2 separate regions of the Homo sapiens genome follow, and region 2 is linked to region 1. Evidence: promoter capture Hi-C in 16 types of primary human blood cells and fetal thymus (Javierre and others, 2016). All regions are on one chromosome and are shown on one strand. The core of a region is centred on a gene start or on the middle of the fragment in contact, and the rest is flanking DNA. Distances in the headings are between cores, read along the strand shown. Region 1 holds the start of RAPGEF1 (Rap guanine nucleotide exchange factor 1). Region 2 overlaps PRRC2B (proline rich coiled-coil 2B).

The links. The method cuts DNA at HindIII sites, captures the fragments that hold promoters and counts their contacts. A CHiCAGO score of 5 or more calls a contact.
Region 2: a contact is called between a fragment that was not itself captured here and the fragment with the promoter of RAPGEF1 in region 1, in 1 of 17 cell types (non-activated CD4 T cells). The highest score is 5.1, in non-activated CD4 T cells.

Annotation. Positions count from the first base shown.
Region 1 is chr9:131,737,978-131,742,862 of GRCh38, forward strand. It overlaps RAPGEF1 (Rap guanine nucleotide exchange factor 1), which reads right to left and starts at 2,099. Exons shown (of 27, transcript NM_001377935.1): 1 at 1,793-2,099. The coding sequence starts at 1,853. RefSeq lists silencers at 1,483-1,812, 1,863-1,912, 2,063-2,322. The HindIII fragment of the contact is 12,763 bases long and covers 1-4,885 here.
Region 2 is chr9:131,432,795-131,437,679 of GRCh38, forward strand. It overlaps PRRC2B (proline rich coiled-coil 2B), which reads left to right. Exons shown (of 32, transcript NM_013318.4): 4 at 3,826-3,928. Among named protein-coding and RNA genes, the nearest start is that of PRRC2B, 41 kb to the left of the region's middle. RefSeq lists enhancers at 3,282-4,257, 4,258-4,885. The HindIII fragment of the contact is 2,505 bases long and covers 1,771-4,275 here.

The sequences.
Region 1 (4,885 bases), core at 849-3,348:
AAAAAAATTTTTTTTAAAGTAGCAATGAGGTCTCGCCATTTTGCCCAGGCTTGTTTCAAACTCCTGGGCTCAAGTGATCCTCCTGCCTTGGCCTTCCAAAATGCAGGGATTACAGGCGTGAGCCACTGTACCTGGCTGACAGATGATTTCCAATCCGGTTCATTTTACTTTTCTGTGATTTCCAAGTTTTGACAATGAACATAGAATATTCTTATATTATAAAGATATAAAACATAATATAATCTTATATTAGATATAAAAAGATATAATATAATCTTATATATTATAAAGTTCTTATAAAAGAACTCAGTGAATGTTCTTTTTAAAATAAATTATCCAAGTTTCCCAACAGTACCGTTCTGACAAGACACTATACAAGAAGTTCCTGAGAAATGCTGCACAGATGAACCCAAGTTATTTCTGGAGCAGCAGGTGTACAGGATGGCGACTCATGGTCACTCGGCAAGGCTGTGGGGGCTCAAATTCAGTGAGAAAAATACTCAAGAAATGGCACCTGAACCCAAGCGCCCTGCCCCTGAGAAAAGCACCCTGGCTTCTGGTCAGAGGGCCAGGAATGAATATACTAGGGGCCTGCCGCCCTCTTGCTGTCTGGACAGCCGGAACTCACTGAACCTCTCTGAGCCTGTAAAACTGGGACCATATTCTTTCCCACAGACTAGCTTCAAAAATTTAAGAAGCAATGCATTTTAGGTGCTAAGAGTTAGATATATAGTAAACCCTCAATAAAGCCTACAAAAATGTCCTTCTGTGCTTCAACCACAGCCTGCAAAAGTCATATTGCCTTGTGGGTCCGCTGCAGGGGTGCACCCCACAGAAGTATCCCAGATTCAACCCAGGAAACATAAGCAACTTCCACAATCAAAGCCACAGACCTCCTTTGCAGCTCCCTAAAAATCTGCTTTCCCTCATTCAGCCGCCAAGCTAACCTGCTACCGGGGTTATGACCACAGGGCATGCTCCCAGTACAGGAGCCCAGGAGCACCCGCCCACTTCACCTTAGACCCAAGAATTCGCATTTGCCCTGCAAGGTGCTGCAGGCTAATAAAGCCTGGGGCCCCACAGGCTCGACAGTCATTGAATCTTTGGAGACTCTATTTCCAGGACAGGCAAACCCAGGGACTCGGAAGGTAACTCCCCCAGATTTCTAGGAACACACAAAGAGACGAGGTCTGCATCAAGATTTACCATCTACTCCAACCCACCGGTCCCCCACCTGCCCTCCTTGCAGAGCTGAGCTTGATCGGGGTGGGGAGGGGAAACTTGACTACCTCCTCAAAATACCCCCACTCATCCAGCCTGCTTCCTTTGAAGCAACCGAAGTGGACGCTTCTCGTTAAACTCGAAGCTCGTTAGAAATGACACATTTTACAGCTCAGCTGGGTTCACCCTCCTAGCGCCGAGCCCAGGCCGGGCACCGATCGCTGCAGCCGCAGCAGCACGCGGCCCGGGCTGTTCTTCCCCTGCTTGGGGCTCGAGCCATTTTCGGAAGTTCCCGGGGACCGCGGAGCGGCTAGCGCGCCCGGCCCCGGGTTGCAGGGGCCCCGCCCGGCCCGGCCCCTGGCGCCCCCGCAGCGGCCGCTTCCCCCCGCGCCCGGCAGGCAATGGGCCTGGAGGAGAAGCTGCCAGGCGCCCCGGCGAGGCCTCGGTGGCTTCACCCCGCCCCGGCGCACGGAGGGCCGCACATCCCGGGCGACCCGCGCTCGGCCCGGGGAGCGGCGGAGCCCCAGGGCCGGGCCCGGCCGGAGGGAGCCGCCCCACGCCCGCGCCTCACCTGCTTTCTCGATCTTGCCGGACATTTCCGGGCTGCGCCGGAGGCCGAGGCCGCCGCTCATCGGGCCCGGGCCGGGCCGCCGCGGGGCGACAGGGGCGGCGCGCCCGCCGCTCGCCTCGGCCCTGGCTCGCCACGCCTCAGACCCGCGCCGGCATGGCGGGCTCCGCGCGGCCGCGGCCCTGCGCTCGGCGACCGCGCTCCAGCCCGCCCGGGCCCAGCCGCTCCCGCCGCGCCCGCCGCCGCCGCTCCGCCTCCCGCGCGCCCGCCGCCGCTCCCCCGGCCCGCGAGCCGGCCGCAGCGCAGCGACGCCGCCCGCCCGCCCGCCGGGCCTCGGCCGCGGCCACGGCCACAGCGCCACCTGCCGGGCGCCCGCCGCGCCGCCACAGCGCCCCCTGTGGGCCCGGAGCCGCCCGAGCCTCCCGCGCGACGCGCGAGACGCAGCGCCCCCTGCCGAGCCGGAGTCCCCACGCCGGGGCCTGGGGCCTGGGGTGTGGGGCCGACCCCGCCTGGGACTCCGCATTCCTCTGCTGTGGGACCAGAGTCACCAGCTCCAGACCTGGGACTGACAGCTCCAACCCAGGGTCCTCGGTTGCCCAAGAGCCTGGCCTGCCCCCTCACCAGAGACACAGAGAACCCTCCTGGGTCAGATTTTCCACCCCAGGACGTGGAACTGACGCCCACCCCACCCTAGCATCATCCCGGACCCAGCATCCCCTGTGGGCCAGAGGCTCCACACCAGGGCCTAGAACTCACTCTCACCAGGACTCAACAAGCTCTGCTGGCTGGGAGCCTGTCCTGACCTCCCCCAAACCAGAGATGCAGCACCCCCTTTTTTGTTTTGTTTTTTGTTTTTGAGACCGAGTCTCACTTTGTCGCCAGGCTGGAGAGCAGTGGCGCGATCTCGACTCACTGCAACCTCTGCCTGCCGGGTTCAAGCAATTCTCCTGCCTCAGCCTCCTGAGTAGCTGGGATTACAGGCACATGCCACCATGCCCAGCTAATTTTTGTATTTTTAGTAGAAACGGGGTTTCGCCATGTTGGCCAGGCTGGTCTCGATCTTCTGACCTCATGATCCACCCACCTTGGCCTCCCAAAGTGCTGGGATTACAGGTGTGAACCACTGCACCCTGCCCGCACCCCCTTCTTAATTGGAGACCCCACACCAGGGCCTGGGAGTGGCCTCATAGCACCTCCTGCCAGCCCAGAGGCTCCAGCCGGGGAATGAGTCCACTCTGGCATGAAAGCCCTCTGCTGGCCCAAGGTCTATGCCAAGGCGGAGGATTCATTCTCCACCCCAGCCCTGCATGTGGGACTCAGTCACCCTGCCAGCGAGAGCCACCTGTCCCGGGCTGGGGTTGGCCCTACTCAGGCCTAAATGTCCCCTGAGGCCTAGAGCCTCCATGCTGGCCTGGGCCCAACTCCCTCAGGGACACAGCACACCCTGCCTGCCCTGCTTATTTGACATCCAGAAGGGCACCCTGGGGCTCAGCTGTGGAACTTTTCTAGTGTGGAAATGAGTTCATTAAAAGTCGTGGCTGGGCACGGTGGCTCACGCCTGTAATCCCAGCACTTTGGGAGGCCGAGGCAGGTGGATCACGAGGTCAAGAGATTGAGACCATCCTGGCCAACATGGTGAAACCCCATCTCTACTAAAAATACAAAAATTAGGTGGGCATGGTGGCACACGCCTGTAGTCCCAGCTACTTGGGAGGCTGAGGCAGGAGAATCTCTTGAACCCAGGACATGGAGGTTGCAGTGAACCGAGATCATGCCACTGTACTCCAGCCTGGTGGCTCCAGAGCGAGACTCCGTCTCAAAAAAAAAAAAAAAGTCGTGGTTGGGCACAGTGGCTCACGGCTGCAATCACAGCACTTTGGGAGGCTGAGGTGGGTGGATGACTTGAGCCCAGGGGTTCGAGACCAGCCTGGGCAATGTGTGAAACTCCGTCTCTACTAAAAATACAAAAATTAGCCAGGCACGGCGGCACCTGCCTGTAGTCCCAGTTACTTGAGAGGCTGATGAGGGAGAATCACTTGAGCCCTGGAGGCAGAGGTTTCAGGGAGTCATGATTGCACCACTGCACTCCAGCCTGAGTGACAGAGGAAGACCCTGGCTAAAAAAAAAAAAAAAAAAAAGGAAAAAAAAAGTCATTTAAGAATCAAAGGATCTGCTAAGTCTAAGCACTATTTCGGGTTCTGTGGGCCCTACAAAAGTGGGCACAATTGGTGCTTCCCTCCAAAGAGTTCACAACTTAGCTGGGAAGTCAAAGTTAAATCCTATAATACAAGTAGTAAATAACAACAAATTAGTAACGCAAGTGATGTTCCAATGTGGGGCAATTCTGCTGCCTGCTTCCTGTTGTTAGTCTAAGATGGAATACAAAGAAGTAGCACGCACCACCTGGGCTAGTTTTCCCTCCTGTTTCCCCCAAAATAAGTAAATTAAATAACCTAGTGATGGGGACAGGATTTGGGGGAGGTGCAGGGAGGAGGAAAAACTGCTAATGTTGTGAGAGATTCTTATTCCCATCTCCCTGGACAGTCTAAAGGGTCACCGATTCCACAACTAAGAGCTAGTCAGGCCGGGTGTGGTGGCTCACACCTGTAATCCCAGCACTTTGGGAGGCCGAGGTGGGTAGATCACCTGAGTTCAGGAGTTCGAGACCAGCCTGGCCAACATGGTGAAACCCCATCTCTACTAAAAATACAAAAAATAGCCGGGCGTGGTGGTGCGCGCTGGTAGTCCCAGCTACTCAGGAGGCTGAGGCACGAGAATCACTTGAACCTGGGAGGCAGAGGTTGCAGGGAGCCAAGATCGCGCCACTGCACTCCAGCCTGGGTGACAGAGCGAGACTCCCTCTTTAAAAAAAAAAAAAAGGAGATGGTCATAGATGGCAGCCAAATTTCCCATCATCATTTCATCAGTTGCAGCCCTCTAGAGGTCAAAGGCAAATCCAAAGATTGACAAATTCATTTCCCTCTTCCACCTGATGAATGGATGCTCTGATCCAGGGTGGCCCTGTTCAGCCCTCTTGGCAGATGCCTTACCAGGCAAAACTGGCCCCTGGTCCCAGGCCCAACCCCAAAACACACT
Region 2 (4,885 bases), core at 1,773-4,272, 300 kb before region 1:
GTAAACGGAGGAGGCGGGTGGTGAGTGGGAGCTGGCGCTCCAAGGGTGGTCCCGGCATCCTTCCCTGTGGCAAACTAACCCTAACCCTTTGGCTACTGCAGCGCTAGTCTTGCAGTGGCAGAATTGGAACACTGGGAGATGCAAATGAAGCTGCTTCCTCTCTGGCCCTGGTGCTTCGTATGTTTCTTTTTCCCTGCCTTCATTTTTTCTGGCTTTTAGAGCCGATGGAGCAGCACATCTGTGGACAACCTTGTCCCCAGTGACCACTTTCCCCCTGTGCCTTATTAGGAAAGGCCTCATCACCCCAGAGGAGCTTATGCAATGACTCAGAGCCAATTCCTGTAAGAAACACTGTGGACAGAGCTGGGGCTTGAGGACTTCATTCCTGGTGATGGGTGTCCCTGTGAGCTGAGCTCTGCAGAGAATCATGCAGCTTCCCTAACCATCGGCCCAGCAGCTTCCCAGACAGAGGAGACTTCTGCTGTTGCTCTAAACAGACCTAGTCATCAGTGAGAACAGCACAGAATCCTCCAGGATCACTGTACTGCAGCCTCCCTGGAGGCTCACCTCCTGCCAGCACAGTACTTACAGAAACCCTAGGGGGCAGAGGGTGGCATGGTGCTGTCAATCAGAGAAACAGCCCCTGTGTGGTGGGCTGAAAACACAGGGCCTGGCTGCCTGGGGCCCACTTGGATGGCTGCACCTTTGTCTCCTGCTGCAAGTCCTCTCTGAGTGTTTAGCCAGTGCTAAGACAATTCAGGGAAGGGGATGTGTTCAGGGAGGGACAGGGCCTTGCTGAGGCTGGCAGGCAGAAATCTGCTGCTGGGGTTTGCCTGTTAAGGAATGTGAACAAAGCTGTCTGGCGGCAGCGCCCTCCTGGCCTGCATCTCTGGTGGCCTCCCTGCTGATGTAGGAAACCAGACGGTAAAAGGGACCCAGATCTCAGCCTGCTGACCCCAGCATCCTTTTCTTACAAGTCTGTGCTAGAAATGACCATGGTAGCTTTTGTAAAATTGTTGCCTGTATTTACTTCAGACAGGATGTAGAGAGTGAGCTAGTTTAGTTATTCAGCTAGATGATTATAAAGTAGTAATCAAAATAGGGCCTTAGAAGTTATTTTTAAAACATTTCTAAGAGTTTGCTTAGGGATCATATTGATGGACAGTATAGCATGACTTTTGAAATCTACCAGCCCTAAGTGGTTTCCAGCTAGACCACTTATTAGCTTGATGGAACCTGGAGAATTGTTTGACTTCTGAGCCTCAGTGTCCCCCCCTTGAAATAGGAATGATACCTGGCTTTGCTGGTGGTTACACGGTATCCATGAGGCATTGATGGGCTAGCATAGGTCAAGTGCTTAGCCTAAACCTGGCACAGAGGAGGGGCAGATATTGGCTGCTGTCATCATTCCATTCAAATGGTACTCATTCCATTCACACCATGAGCTCTGGAACGAAATGGATATTGCACATTTTAATGGAAGGACTGAAATCCTCTGCACCACCAAAAGTTCTAGAGAGGACAAAGCATTACTCCCTCCTGTTATCCAGCCTTTACTCTGCCTTTGCGGCTCCAGTGAGGGCTAGTTGTGCTGGAGCACGTCCGCCAGGGAAGAGGTGAGGATGGAGTGTTGGTGAGGGCATAGACCCCCGTGTAGTTCTCTGCTGCCCCAGGCCACATCCTCCCACCAAGGTATCAGGTGGCAAGTGGGCCCACAACGTGGGGACTCAGTGCTTAGTTTTGGAGAACACAAAAGTGCGACTACTTGGAAGCTTCTCTTTTAGGTAGAAGGAGATGTAAGAACCCGATCAGTAGCCTTCTGTTTGTAATAATCACGAATGGTGAGTTGCCTGGGTCAGGTGAATCTTGGAAGAGGGTGTCTGTATAGAGTTTGGCTTCCATTTACAGATAAGCCACTTGTATTGGAGGAGTTCCCACCAGGGGGGTGGCTGCCCTCCTTGAATCTCGTTGAGTGAAAAGTTGCCTACTGTGACCGGAGCGCTGAGTTAGAGCAGAAACCTTCATTCGGCCATTTCTTGTTGATTTCATCACTTCACCTGTGGAGTGTAAATTCACTGACACAGCCTTTTTTTGGAGGGCAGCCTGGCAATCATTTAAACTTCAAAATATCTTTTGATCCAGCATTTCCATTTCTAAGGTCGTATGCTATGGAATTACTTACAGAAAAATGGTGCAAAGATATGTATTAAAAAAAATTCTTGGCCGGGTGCAGTGGCTGACATCTGTAATCCCAGCACTTTGGGAGGCCGAGGAGGGTGGATCACCTGAGGTCAGGAGTTCAAGACCAGCCTGACCAACATGGCGAAACCCGATCTCTACTAAAAATACAAAAATTAGCTGGGCGTGGTCGTGCACGCCTGTAATCCCAGCTACTTGGGAGGATGAGGCAGGAGAATTGCTTGAACCCGGGAGGCAGAGGTTGCAGTGAGCCGAGATCATGCCACTGCACTTTAGCCAGAGTGACAGAGCGAGATTCCATCTCGAAAAAAAAGAAAAGAAAAAAAAGTTCTTATTGTAGGTCGGGCGCAGTGGCTCACACCTGTAATCCCAGCACTTTGGGAGGCTGAACTGAGCAGATCACATGAGGTCAGGAGTTCAAGACTGGCCTGGCCAACATGTTGAAACCCCGTCTCTGCTAAAAATACAAAAATTAGCCAGGCGTGGTGCTGCATAACTGTAATCCCAGATATTCGGGAGACTGAGGCAGGAGAATCGCTTGAACCTGGGAGAAAGAGGTTGCAGTGAGCTGAGATCATGCCACTGCACTGCAACCTGGGCGGCAGAATGAGACTCCATCTAAAAAAAAAAAAAAAAAAAAAAAAAGCCAAAAAATTCTTATTGCAGTTGTATCTGTAAGGGGGAAGAAAAACCCATATGAGAGACTGGTTAAATTATGACCTGTCTAGTTGTGTTGTGTGCTCATTAAAAGCAAAAGGAAGATCCGTTTCTATGTTGATGAAAAGATGTTCAGATGCATGAAGTAAAAAAGTCATAGAGCTTTATGTATGGGGTCACTCCACTTCTGTTAGAAAAATACTGTATTCCTGCAGTGTAAAACTCTGCTGGTTAAAAACAAAACTGTATTAACAGGTATAGAAAAGTCTGCTTGGAGTTTCTCTCTGGATGATGAGATCATGATGTTCTGTGTTACCTAGTTTTATTTATAAGTTTATTTTTACTATGAGCATGTATTTCTTTTATAAACTCAGAGAAGGTTAAAAAGTCAGCCCTCTGAGTAGGTATGGGCTCTGGGTCTGGGGTAAGGGGCACAAGCCCTTCATTCCAGTGATTGAATTTCCCTATTGGCAAATCCTTCATTTGCATTGTTTACAGTGAGCTTTTAGTTTTTGCAGACAGAAGGCTCTACAAGAAGGCAGAAAAGTTTCATTTTTAAAAAAGAAAGGCCAGGCAAGGTGGCTCAAGCCTGTAGTCCCACCTACTCAGAAGGCCGAGATGAGAGGATTGCTTGAGGCCGGGAAGCAGAGGTTGCATTGAGCCAAGTTTACCCCACTACACTCCAGCCTGGGTGATAGAGTGAGACCCCCTGTCTCAAAAAAAAGAAAAAGAAAAAGTCAGAGGACTGTCTTGTGCTAATTTTAAATGTCAGTGACTAGAACTTAAGCATGGTTTGTTTTCTTATTAGTTTTTGCCAGCATAAGAATCTACTGGGGAAAGTCGTATTTTTATTGGCCAGAGGAGGTCTGCTTCCTGTGAGCAGCTGAACAGCTGTGGCTCCTGAGAACGCAGAGACCTGGCCAGCGCACTCTGTGCGGTGCCTGACCCCACTGCCCTGCCTTTGTCTAGTTCCAGTGCGACGGCCTCTCAGCCGCCGGAGTCGCTGCCGCAGCCGGGTTTGCAGAAATCTGTCTCCAATTTGCAGAAACCGACACAGTCAATCAGTCAGGAGGTAGGTGCTGGGACCCCATCCCAACTGTTTCCTGGGCATGGTAGCCCCTAAATCTCTTTGTTGCTGGGGGATGGAAGGAGTTGCTACTGAGAAGTGTGGTTGTGCATGACCTGTCTATTCCAGAGGCACACCCGATGAGTGACTTTAGAAAACCGTCATGGGAAACCGTCAAGGTCAGTGGTTAAGAAATTTAATCTGCAGCTTTTAGAAAAAGACCTCAGATACAGACTAGGATACAGGCACCTACTTTGGTTCCTCTTGATTTACCGTGAGGCAGGGTCACTCAGGCTGGACTGCAGACTAGTTCAGGGTGAAGCTCCATGGAAGCGTCACGTGAGCTCCATGGAAGCTTGGGTCACAGGAAGACAAAAAGTGGCAGGTCACAAAAAGGTTCACTGGCCAGGTGAGTTTGAAAAACAAAACGAAGCGAGCTCCTTTACTGCGGTACTTCTCAGTGCCTTTCATATGCTAATACCTAATGTGACTCTCTGAGAAGAGGATATAATGGGCAGCAGTCCCTGAATTTATTTGTCCCAGGAAACATTTCTTTACCGAATGTCTCTAGGGACTAATGTCTCTCAGAACACGCTTTGGGAAATACGAAGCTACAATCCTTCATTTGTTGATATGTTTTAAGTGTTTTTCTAAGCAGAAAGTAATGATTTCACCAAGCAAGAGCTCATAACACACTCAGTCCATCAGAGCCTGGCTACAGGTTTCCAGAGATTGGCAGGAGGATATACTTAGCCAGAACTAGAAATCTAGATGAGAAGTCTATGAATTTTTTAGAAGACTAAAAGTAGACGTAGATATCTCATATTCACCAGCTCTCTTGACAGCGGGAATGAACATATTTTGGTTTTGCTTTGCTGCATGGGCAATATAAGGTCTCAAATGTCATCCCCTCTCTGCTTTAACCATACTCAGGGAAGTCTGTGGCTTTGCCAGGGCACCCTC